Linked DNA regions of Homo sapiens: region 1 is linked to region 2. The links are contacts of gene promoters, found by promoter capture Hi-C in blood cells and fetal thymus (Javierre and others, 2016). All regions are on one chromosome and are shown on one strand. Each heading gives the region's core, a stretch centred on a gene start or on the middle of the fragment in contact. The rest is flanking DNA. Distances are from core to core; before and after follow the strand shown. Region 1 has its middle 8.8 kb from the start of FAM187B. Region 2 holds the start of NPHS1 (NPHS1 adhesion molecule, nephrin).

Evidence for each region. The method cuts DNA at HindIII sites, captures the fragments that hold promoters and counts their contacts. A CHiCAGO score of 5 or more calls a contact.
Region 1: a contact is called between a fragment that was not itself captured here and the fragment with the promoter of NPHS1 in region 2, in 1 of 17 cell types (neutrophils). The highest score is 6.4, in neutrophils.

What each region holds. Positions count from the first base shown.
Region 1 is chr19:35,234,627-35,240,414 of GRCh38, reverse strand. No RefSeq gene overlaps it. Among named protein-coding and RNA genes, the nearest start is that of FAM187B, 8.8 kb to the right of the region's middle. The HindIII fragment of the contact is 5,085 bases long and covers 1-4,373 here.
Region 2 is chr19:35,851,254-35,857,056 of GRCh38, reverse strand. It overlaps NPHS1 (NPHS1 adhesion molecule, nephrin), which reads left to right and starts at 4,553. Exons shown (of 29, transcript NM_004646.4): 1 at 4,553-5,277; 2 at 5,385-5,600; 3 at 5,673-5,795. The coding sequence starts at 5,220. It overlaps KIRREL2 (kirre like nephrin family adhesion molecule 2), which reads right to left and starts at 146. Exons shown (of 15, transcript NM_199180.4): 1 at 1-146. RefSeq lists enhancers at 4,625-5,266, 5,267-5,803. The HindIII fragment of the contact is 3,857 bases long and covers 2,087-5,803 here.

The sequences.
Region 1 (5,788 bases), core at 582-3,081, 610 kb after region 2:
ACAGGAACACTGTCCAAACCACAAAATATCAAGCATCCCCTTCTCTCAGCTGATCTGAATGGCTGCTGTTTCTTTACCAATTTCAGTTTTAGCTTTGCTCCGTTCTTCTCACCTTCTAGAAAAGATAGAATTGGTTACACTCGTGGTGGGCAAAGGACATGACCAAACACTTTTCAAAAGAAAATATACATCTGGCCAAGAATCATATAAAAAAGCTCAACATCACTAATCATTAGTGAAACGCAAATCAAAACCACCATGAGATACCATCTCACATCAGTCAGAATGGCTATTATTAAAAAGTCAAAAAACAACATGCTGGCGAGGTTGCAGAGAAAAAGGAATGCTTACACACTGTTGGTGGGAGTGTTAATTAGCATGTAAGACAGTGTGGCAATTCCTCAAAGACCTAAAAACAGAACTACCATTCAACCTAACAAGCCCATTACTGGGTATACACCCAAAGAAATATAAATTGTTCTATCATAAAGACACATGCACACTTATATTCATTGCAGCACTATTCACAATAGCAAAGACATAGGATCAACCTAAATGTCCATCAATGGTAGACTGGATTAAAAAAATGTGGTACATATACACTATGGAATACTATGCAGCCATAAAAAAGAATGAAATCATGCCCTTTGCAGGAACAAGAATGGAGCTGAAGGTCATTATCCTTAGCAAACTAATGCAGAAAGAGAAAACTAAATACCGCATGTTCTCCCTTATAAGTGGAATCTAAATGATGAGAACACAAATACATAAAGGGGAACAACACACACTGGAGCCTATCAGAGGGTAGAGTGTGGGAGGAGGGAGAGGATCAGGAAAAATAGCTAAGGGGTACTAGGCTTAATACCTGGGTGATGAAATTATATGTACAACAAACCCCCATGATATAAATTTACCTCTATAAGAAACCTGCACACATACCCCTGAACTTAAAATCAAAAGTTTGAAAAAAAAGAATTGGTTACACTTTTTGATAGCACCCAACCCAAAGCAAATCCCCACTTCTTTGAATCCTTCCCACAATCATACAACACAGCCCAAATTCTGTTAGTCTTCTCTGACACCTTCCTGAGACACCACACCATTCCCCATGGTGTACATCTGCCCTCACTGCAGCAAGTCAAAAAACCTAACTTTGTTCATAGGTGCATGCCTGATTGTCTTTGGCTGATGGGTATTCACATAGCAAACCTGTTCCCACCTCAAGACCTTTGCATGTGCGGTGTGCTTAGTTCAGACCTTGCTTTCTCTGGATTTTTTTTTTTTTTTTTTTTTTTTTTTGAGACAGAGTCTCACTCTGTCACCCAGGCTAGAATGCAGTGGCACAATCTCAGCTCACTACAACCTCCACCTCCCAGGTTGAAGCAATTCTCCTGTCTCAGCCTTCTGAGTAGCTGGGATTATAGGCGTGCACCACCACACCTGGATAATTTTTGTATCTTTAGTAGAGATGGGGTTTCACCATGTTGGCCAGGCTGGTCTTGAACTCATGATCTCAGGTGCTCCACTTGCCTCAGCCTCCCAAAGTGCTGGGATCACAGGCATGAGCCGCTGTGTGAATCTTCATAACCATCTTATATAGGTCTGCTCAAATGTCACTTCTTCAGAGAAGCCTTCTCTTCTCACCTACCTCTCTCCCCACAGGCTGGGCATGGTGTCCCACACCTGTAATCCCAGTACTTTGGGAGGCTGAGACAGGAGGATAGTTTGAGGCTGTAAGTTTAAGACAAGCCTCTACATGGTGTATACATTTTCTTTATCCAGTCTACCATCTCTACCAAAAATTTTAAAAATTAGCTAGGCATGGTGGCACGTCCCTGTAGTCCTAGCTACTTAGGAGGCTGAGACAGGAGAATCACTTGAACCCAGGAGTTTCAGGCTGCAGTGAGCTATGATTACACCACTGCACTCCAGCCTGGGTGACAGAATGAGACCCTGTCTCAAAACAAATGAATAAATAAAAATAAAATAGTCTCTATATTAGTTGGCTAGGGCTGCCATAACAAACACCAGAGACTGGGTGGTTTAAACAACAGAAATTTATTTCTTCGCAATTCTGTAAGCTAGAAGTCCAAAATCAAGGTGTTGGCAGGTTTGGTTTCATTCTGAGGCCTTTCTTCTTGGTGTGCAGATGGTTCCCTTTTCACTATGTCCTCACATGGTCATCCCTCTGCCTGGGTTCTAATTCCCTCATCTTTTAAGGGCACTAGTCATATTGGATTAGAACCCACTCTAACAACCCTATTTTAACTTAATTACCTCTTTAAAAGCCCTGTTTCCCAATACAGTCATATTCTGAGGTATTGGGGGTCAGTGTTTCAACATATGAACTTGTGGGGTCATAATTCATCCCCTAATAGTCTCCATCCCCAATCTCTCTTTGCGCCTTCTTTTTTTCTTCAAAGCATTTACCATGACCTGATGTTTTATTAGTCATTTATTTGTTTACCATCTGTGTATTAGTCTATTTGCTTGCTACTATGAAGAAATATCTGAGACTGGGTAATTTCTAAAGAAAAAGATGTTTAATGGACTCAGAGCTGCACATGGCTGGGGAGGCCTCATAATCATGGCAGAAGGCAAAGGAGGAGCAAAGGCGTGTCTTACATGGCGGCAGGCAAGCAACTGTGTGTAGGGGAACTGCCCTTTATAAAACCATCAGATCTCACCAGGCATGGTGGCTCATGCCTGTAATCCCAGCACTTTGGGAGGCCGAGGCAGGTGGATCATTTGAGGTCAGGAGCTCAAGACCAGCCTGGCCAACATGGTGAAACCCCCTCTCTACTAAAAATATGAAAATTAGCTGGGCATGGTGGTGCACATCTGTAATTCCAGCTACTCAGGAGGCTGAGGCACAAGAATCGCTTGAACCAGGGAGGCAGAGGTTGCTGTCAGCTGAGATCGTGCCACTGCACTTCAGCCTGGGCAGCAGCAGAGTGAGACTCTCCCTCAAAAAAAAAAAAAAAAAAAAAAGAAAGAAAGAAAGAAAGAAAAAAACCATCAGATCTTGTGAGACTTATTCACTATCATGAGAATAGCATGGGAAAAACCTGCTCTCATGATTCAATTACCTCCCATCGGGTCCTTCCCATGACACGTGGGGATTATGAGAGCTACAATATGAGATGAGGTTTGGGTGGGGACACAGCCAAACCATATCACTGACCAAAGCATTCAATTGCCAGTTCATGATTTGCTATACTCCCTTATCCTGCCATAGCAACTAATGATGTTGCAGATGGTACCACCTCTGTTAGCCACAGTATCTGAAGGGACTTTGTGGAGTATAGCTCTCCCCAGCCAAATTTGGACATGTCGCATGAAAAAAAATTTTATTAAGCCACTAAGATTTTAGAATCCTTTGTTACATAGCATAACTTAACCTATCCTGACTAATACATCCCCACTAGGATGTAAGCTCCAAGAGGTCAGGGACTTAGCCTGGATCCTTGGTGTCTGGTGCAAGGTGGATGAGTGATATGGTTTGGTTTTGTGTCCCCGCCCAAGTCTCATCTTGAATTGTAATCCCCACAGGTCAAGGGAGGGACCCAGTGGAAGGTAATTGGATTATGGGAGTGGTTTCTCCCGTGCAGTGAGGGAGTTCTCATGAGATCTGATGCTTTAAAAGTAGCTGGCAGTTCCCTAATTGCTGTCTCTTTGCTGCCACCTTGTGAAGGTGCCTGCTTCCCTTTCGCCTTGCACCATGATTGGAAGTTTCCTGAGGCCTCCCCAGCCATGCAGAACTGTGAGTCAATTAATCTTCTTTTCCTTATAAATTTACCAGTCTCCAGTAGTTCTGGCCGGGTGCTGTGGCTCACATCTGTATTCCCAGCACTTTGGGAGGCCGAGGCGGGCAGATCACTTGAGGTCAGGAGTTCAAGACCAGCCTGGTCAACATGGTGAAACCCCGTCTCTACTAAAAATACAAAAATCAGCTGGGCATGGTGGTACATGCCTGTAATCCCACCTACTTGGGAGGCTGAGGGAAGAGAATTGCTTGAACCTGGGAGGCAAAGGCTGTAGTGAACCAAGATTGCACCACCGCACTCCAGCCTGGGGGCTAGAGAGTGAGACTCTGTCTCAAAAAAAAAAAAAAAGGAAAGTCTCAGCAACTTGCCTGGGGTCATGTGGCTCACACAGTGCCTGGCACAATTCTGGTACAACTAATATTTTCCCATCAGTCAATGCTGTGGAAGACATGGTTGGCTACACCAAATCAGCATTCTTTTCTACAACTCCCCTGCATACAAAACCCTGATTTTGTCTGGGTCTTCAGTGGCTTCTGCTAAGAAAAAGCTGACCTTACCCAATCCTAGGCAACAAATTCTAATTGGTTTAAGCCAACGATGTAAGCTTCATTTATTTTCAGAGATTGGTTTAGACCTGGGCATGGGCCCCAATCCTGGCCAGTAGAACTTTAGGGGAGAGCTGATGTGAGGATTTTGGAAATGGTTTTAACTCTGTGATATAAAGGAGAACACCAGAGGAAAAATCCCTTGTAATAGACATTAGCCATGGAAATCATTACTGCCATTTGCCAAAAGATTCCTGGAAATAGTAGAGTTCCATTTTTTTTTTTTTTTTTTTGAGATGGAGTCTTGCTCTGTCGCCCAGGCTGGAGTGCAGTGGCGCGATCTCGGCTCACTGCAAGCTCCGCCTCCCAGGTTCACGCCATTCTGCTGCCTCAGCCTCCCCAGCAGCTGGGACTACAGGTGCACACCGCCACGCCCGGCGAATTTTTTTGTATCTTTAATAGAGATGGGGTTTCACGGTGTTAGCCAGGATGGTCTCGATCTCCTGACCTCGTGATCCGCCGCCTCAGCCTCCCAAAGTGCTGGGATTACAGGCGTGAGGCACGGCGCCCAGCTAGAGTTCAATTTCTTTTGTTGGCTTGGTGGATTGGTGGTGCCATGTAGCTGTTTCTAGCCAATGGTTTGTGAGCAAGCGACATGACATGTGTTACTTAAGGGCAAAGCATTTAATGTAGACCCAAAATCTTACAGAGAGCTCTTTCTTTCTCCTTGGAAGAAACTGAAAATGTTTGAGATGGCAGTTGCGCCATCACCCTGGATTCCTGAGTGATTCCAATACCAATGCACAATGAGTAAAAAGTAAACCTTAGTTGTTTTATGTGGTTGAGATTTGGGGGGAATTTTTTTTTTTTTTTTTTTAGATGAAGTCTTGCTCTGTCACCCAGGCTGGAGTGCAGTGGCATGATCTCAGCTCACTGCAACATCCACCTCCCGGGTTCAAGTGATCTTCCTGCCTTAGCCTCCCAAGTAGCTGGGACTTCAGGTGCATGCCACCACACCTGGCTAATTTGTGTATTTTTAGTAAAGACAGGGTTTTGTCATTTTTTGTATTTTTAGTAGAGACAGGGTTGGCTAGGTTGGTCTCAAACTCCTGACCTCAGGTGATCTGCCCTCCTTAGCCTCCCAAAGTGCTGGGATTACAGGCGTGAGCCACCACACCTGGCTGGAAGTTTATTATAGTAGCAAATAACTTATCTAGATTGATACCAAAATAGTATCAGGAGTAGGGTGCTGAGGTAATCAAAAATAAAAAGACAGCATTGGCTTAGATACCTTTGGGACTAAGACACTTATTTGAAACCAGAAGGATGGAGGCTGTTGCCTGAGATACTCTGGAAGGCAGATAATGTATTTAATGGACTTGTAGCTTTCAAGGAAGCTGCTGGAATATAAGATGTTAGCAGTATAAGTTGGCCAAAGTTAGCTAAAAATTGAGAAGGGCTTTGAGAGATAAAGTC
Region 2 (5,803 bases), core at 3,304-5,803:
AGCACGCCTCCTGTCACCCTGGCCCGGAGCCCCCTTCACGCTCGACTCTTCGCCCAGCCTAGTCTCTGGCCTGGAGTCCTCCAAGTCTGCTCATCCGCAGCCTCTGACGCTCTGAAACGCCTGCCAGTTCCGCGGCCTGGGTCTCTGGGAGACCCCAAGAGGGCCCGATCCCGCTCGCCCCGCCCGGGTCCGCCCCCCGGGAGCTCCGCCCTCTTCCCGTTGAGAAACTCCCGCGGCTGAGACGCGGATGAATGGGGGACGCAGGGCGGGATCCCCCGGCGGGTGGGCGCCCCCAGCTCAATTGGGGTCTGGGAGCCGGAACACCTGGGTTCGAGGAGGGAGGGGGTCCCGGCTGGGTTGGACACCTGCGCCCTGCCGGGGTTGAGGGGCAGGCAAGGGGTGAGGAGGAGGGAAGGGAGAGAGTGGAAGAAACTTGCTCAGCCCAGGTCCTAGAGGGACTGCGCTCAGTGGAAACTGAGCTATAAATGGGAGCTCCTGGGGCCTCGCCAGTTTCCGCGCCCTGGGGGATGCGGGGTCCGGGGCTCCCCCGGGCCTGCGTGTCGGGAAGAGGGCACACCGATACCTGGGGGACAGTTGGGACCCCTACCTCGACTCCCCCAGCCTCAAAACCCCTCCTCAAAATATCCCTCTGTTCCCTTGTTATTGCTGCAAACTACAGCACGTCCTAAGACCCAGGAATCCAGGCCCTCGGCCCCTCCTTTCCCAGGACCCCGCAGTCCCAGCCCAACCCCTCTCCCCACTCGGCCGGCCGGGCCCCTCGGCCTGGTTGCCCGGCGACGGCTGGGAGGCGGCGGTGCCGGGCCGGGGCAGGCAGGGAGGCTGGGAACCGCGCAGCTTGTCCTGACGGCTCCATGCAGCCCAGCTGGGGCGTTCCCACGCTGCGCAGCTGGCCGAGCAGGTGGGAGGGACCCCGAGCAGCCTGAAGGAGGGCTGGGGGGCTGGGACCCTGATCTGACATTCCTGGACCTGTAAGAACTGGAGGGTCCACATTCAGATTCTCCACTGTTCTTAGGCTCAGACTCCGTGTCCCTAAATGGGGGAGTGGGGTTGGGAGTGGGGGTTGGACTTACAGGGTTATAAGGGACTGGTGGTTCAGGCCTTTGCTGGCTGAGACGCTGATGGCCTGATCTCCCGGTTCCTTGAGAGGCTGGAGACTCAAGGTGCACTCAAGTGCATGGTGCACTTGGAAGAGGGTGACAGGGGTCAGAATATCTGGTCTTAAGTCTTAAGAGTCGGTGGATCTATCTGCCAATCTCTCCCCACCCCCACACAGGCCCAGGAGGATTTGGAAATCAGACCGTGAACATCTGTCCTAAGTCCTGTGTGTATGTGTGTGTGTGTGTGTGTGTGTGTGTGTGTGTGTGTGTGTGTGTGTGTGTATGGGGAGGTGCGGGGGTGGGTAGTGTGGCCAGGAGGATCAGAGGCCCAAATTCCCGAGTCCTTGGAGAGAAGGGACTGAGACCCCAGGGTCTGAGAGGGGAGGGATCTGGGGGCCTACACTCCCGGCTTCTGTGTGGCTTATCTAGTGCCTGGATTTTGAAATAGGATGGACATGGGGCTGGAACTCCTGAGTCTTAGGGAGGAACTCAAGTCATGGGGCTGTTTTTCCAGGCACTTGACGCCGCTTCCCCTTCCTGGCTCTCTGGGGCTACGGACATGGAAAGATGGAGAGCCCAAGGTCCCAGGAGCATGCAGAGAAGGAAAACAGCCAAGGTGGAGGGTGGAAGGTTTGTGCTTATTAAAGGCCCCAGCAAGGGACAGCTCCACGCTCTGGCACCTAGGGACACCATCTGGCGAGGGCCCCCAGGACAGAGCCACTCCCCCAGCTCGGCATCCAGCCCATTTCCCAGGGGGTGTAGAGAGCAGTTGGGAGAGGGGAGGTGGGAGGAGGGCAAGGAGTCAAGCATGTGAGGGAAGATGGAAGTCCAGCATCGAGGATGAAGCTGGGGGCTGAGGCCAGATGCCTCATCTTGTTCCTGGGAACGATATTGGCGGGGGTCTTGGGGAGGTAGGGAGAAAACTAGCATTTCCAATTCCCGCAGGAGATAAGCAGGCAGAAGAAGCTTATCCCAGGCAAGTGTATGTGCACGCGGGGAGGGCAGGCCCACCAGCATATGGTTATAAAATCCAGGGATGTGATGAGCAGAGCCACTCGGAGATGGAGAGACACATAAGAGAAAGAGGCGTGGTCAGAGTGTGGCTGAGAACAAATATTTATGGAGCTCCTGGTGTGTGTGAGACAGACTGTGGGGTGAGGGGAGCGACAGAGGTGAGAACAGAGACAGAGAAACAGAATAACAGAGACATATAGAGATGGAGAGACACAGTGAAATAAAGATTGACTGAGATTTAACAACTTAATATAGAGAGCGAGAGAGTCTCAAACAGATGGAGAAAGATAGAAAGATAAATCAGCTGGGCACAATGACTCACGCCTGCAATCCCAGCACTTTGGGAGGCCGAGTCAGGCTGATCACCTGAGGTCAGGAGTTCGAGACCAGCCTGATCAACATGGAGAAACCCCGTCTTTACTAAAAATACAAAAAATTAGCCAGGCGTGGTGGCGCATGCCTGTAATCCCAGCTACTAGGGAGGCTGAGGCAGGAGAATCGCCTGAACCCGGGAGGCAGAGGTTGCAGTGAGCCGAGATCACACTATTACACTCCAGTCTGGGCAACAAGAGTGAAACTCCATCTCAAAAAAAGAAAAAAGAGAAAAAAGAAAAAAAAGAAAGATAAATCAAGGGCCAGGTGCGGTGGCTCATGCCTGTAATCCTAGTACTTTGGGAGGCCGAGATGGGAGGATTGCTTGAGCCCAGGAGTTCCAGACAAGCCTGGGCAATATAGCAAGACTCTGTCTCTGCAAAAACATTTAAAAAAAATTAGCCAAGTGGCGGGGTGCAGCGGCTCCCACCTGTAATCCCAGCACTTTGGGGGGCCAAGGCAGGTGGGTTACCTGAGGTCAGGAGTTCGAGACCTGCCTGGCCAACATGGCGAAACCCCGTCTCTACTAAAAATACAAAAATTAGCTGGGTGTGGTGGTCAATGCCTGTATTCCCAGCTACTCAGGAGGCTGAGGCAGGAGAATCGCTTGGACCTGGGAGGCGGAGGTTACAGTGAGCCAACATCGCACCATTGCACTCCAGCCTGGGTGACAGAGCAAGACTCCCTCTCAAAAAAAAAAAAAAAAAAAAAAAAATAGCCAGAGTGGTGATGCGGGCCTGTAGTCCCAGCTACTCAGGAGGCTGAGGCAGAAAGAACACTTGAGCCTAGGAGGTTTGAGGCTTCAATGAGCCATGATCACACCACTGCACTCCAGCCTGGGCAATAGAGAAAGACCCTGTCTCTACAAACAAATTTTAAAAAATTAGCTGGAGTGGTGGTGTGCACCTGTAGTCCCAGCTATTCAGGAGGCTGAGGCAGGAGGATCACCTGAGCCCAGGAAGTTGAGGCTGCAATGAACCAAGATCATGCCACTGCCCTCCAGCCTGGGCAACAGAGCAAGATTCCATCTCAAAAGAAAGAAAGATAAATCAAGATAGATAGAGGGAGGGAGAGAGAGAGACATGGAGAAGGAAAGAAGAGATGGGAGAGAGGGCAAGAAAAAGAGGGAGAAGAAAGCTCATGCAGTCCTTGCCAAAGGGCGCCCACTTTGGGCTCACACTGCACCCACACTGGGGGCCGGTGGAATTGGACTCTGCCTTTTACTCCCGCCCACACCCTGTGCACTCCCACGTAAGACACTGTCACACACACGCTCTCCACATGCTTATTACAGATCGCAGTTCACTCTAACCTTCCCCACTCTCACACCCACGTACACACATGCATATCTTCCCTCTCTCCCACACTCTCCCAGCCTGTCACACTCACTCTTGCATCCTCCCCAGCAGAGATCCCTGACATCATTTAGGCACTGATGTCTACTAAAAAAGGAAGGGAGGCCAGGTGCGGTGGCTCATGTCTGTAATCCCAGCATTTTGGGAGGCTGAGGCAGATGGATCACCTGAGGTCAGGAGTTCGAGACCAGCGTGGCCAACATGATGAAACCCCGTCTCTAGTAAAAATACAAAAATTAGCCAGGCATGGTGCTATATACCTGTAGCACCAGCTACTTGGGAGACAGAGGTGGGAGAATTACTTGAACCTGGGAGGTTCAAGCCATGGGAGGTGGAAGTTGCAGTGAGCCGAGATGCCACTGCACTCCAGCCTGAGCAACAGAGCAAGACTATCTCAAGAAAAGAAAGAAAGAAAGAAAGAGACTTGCCAAGGTCATGTATCAGGGCAAGGAAGAGCTGGGGGCCCAGCTGGCTGCTCCCCTGCTGAGCTGGGAGACCACCTTGATCTGACTTCTCCCATCTTCCCAGCCTAAGCCAGGCCCTGGGGTCACGGAGGCTGGGGAGGCACCGAGGAACGCGCCTGGCATGTGCTGACAGGGGATTTTATGCTCCAGCTGGGCCAGCTGGGAGGAGCCTGCTGGGCAGAGGCCAGAGCTGGGGGCTCTGGAAGGTACCTGGGGGAGGTTGCACTGTGAGAATGAGCTCAAGCTGGGTCAGAGAGCAGGGCTGACTCTGCCAGTGCCTGCATCAGCCTCATCGCTCTCCTAGGCTCCTGGCCTGCTGGACTCTGGGCTGCAGGTCCTTCTTGAAAGGCTGTGAGTAGTGAGACAAGGAGCAGGAGTGAGGGGTGGCAGGAGAGAAGATAGAGATTGAGAGAGAGAGAGAGAGAGAGACAGAGAGAGAGGAAGAGACAGAGACAAAAGGAGAGAGAACGGCTTAGACAAGGAGAGAAAGATGGAAAGATAAAGAGACTGGGCGCAGTGGCTCACGCCTGTAATCCCAACACTTGGGGAGGCCAAGGTGGGAGGATGGCTTGAAGGAAAGAGTCTGAGATCAACCTGGCCAACATAGTGAGACCCCGTCTCTAAAAAAAAAAAAAAGAAAAAAAAAAGAAAAAAGAAAAAAAAGTTTTTTTAAAGAGACAGAGAAAGAGACTCAGAGATTGAGACTGAGAGCAAGACAGAGAGAGATACTCACAGGGAAGAGGGGAAGAGGAAAACGAGAAAGGGAGGAGAGTAACGGAAAGAGATAAAAAAGAAAAGCAGGTGGCAGAGACACACAGAGAGGGACCCAGAGAAAGCCAGACAGACGCAGGTGGCTGGCAGCGGGCGCTGTGGGGGTCACAGTAGGGGGACCTGTGATGGCCCTGGGGACGACGCTCAGGGCTTCTCTCCTGCTCCTGGGGCTGCTGACTGAAGGTGAGTGGGATCCCAGCCTTGTACCCAGCGCCAAGTGGCCCCCATTTCCCACTTACCTTCCCTAGACAAACCCTCTGCCCTTTCCTTGCACCGCGCTGTGTCCTCAGGCCTGGCGCAGTTGGCGATTCCTGCCTCCGTTCCCCGGGGCTTCTGGGCCCTGCCTGAAAACCTGACGGTGGTGGAGGGGGCCTCAGTGGAGCTGCGTTGTGGGGTCAGCACCCCTGGCAGTGCGGTGCAATGGGCCAAAGATGGGCTGCTCCTGGGCCCCGACCCCAGGATCCCAGGCTTCCCGAGGTACCGCCTGGAAGGGGACCCTGCTAGAGGTAAGGGATCAGAGCCTGAGACCCTCAGCCACCAGCGGAAGCTGCGGCCCTGACTTCCGGCTCCCCCTGCAGGTGAATTCCACCTGCACATCGAGGCCTGTGACCTCAGCGATGACGCGGAGTATGAGTGCCAGGTCGGCCGCTCTGAGATGGGGCCCGAGCTCGTGTCTCCCAGAGTGATCCTCTCCATCCTGGGTATGGGT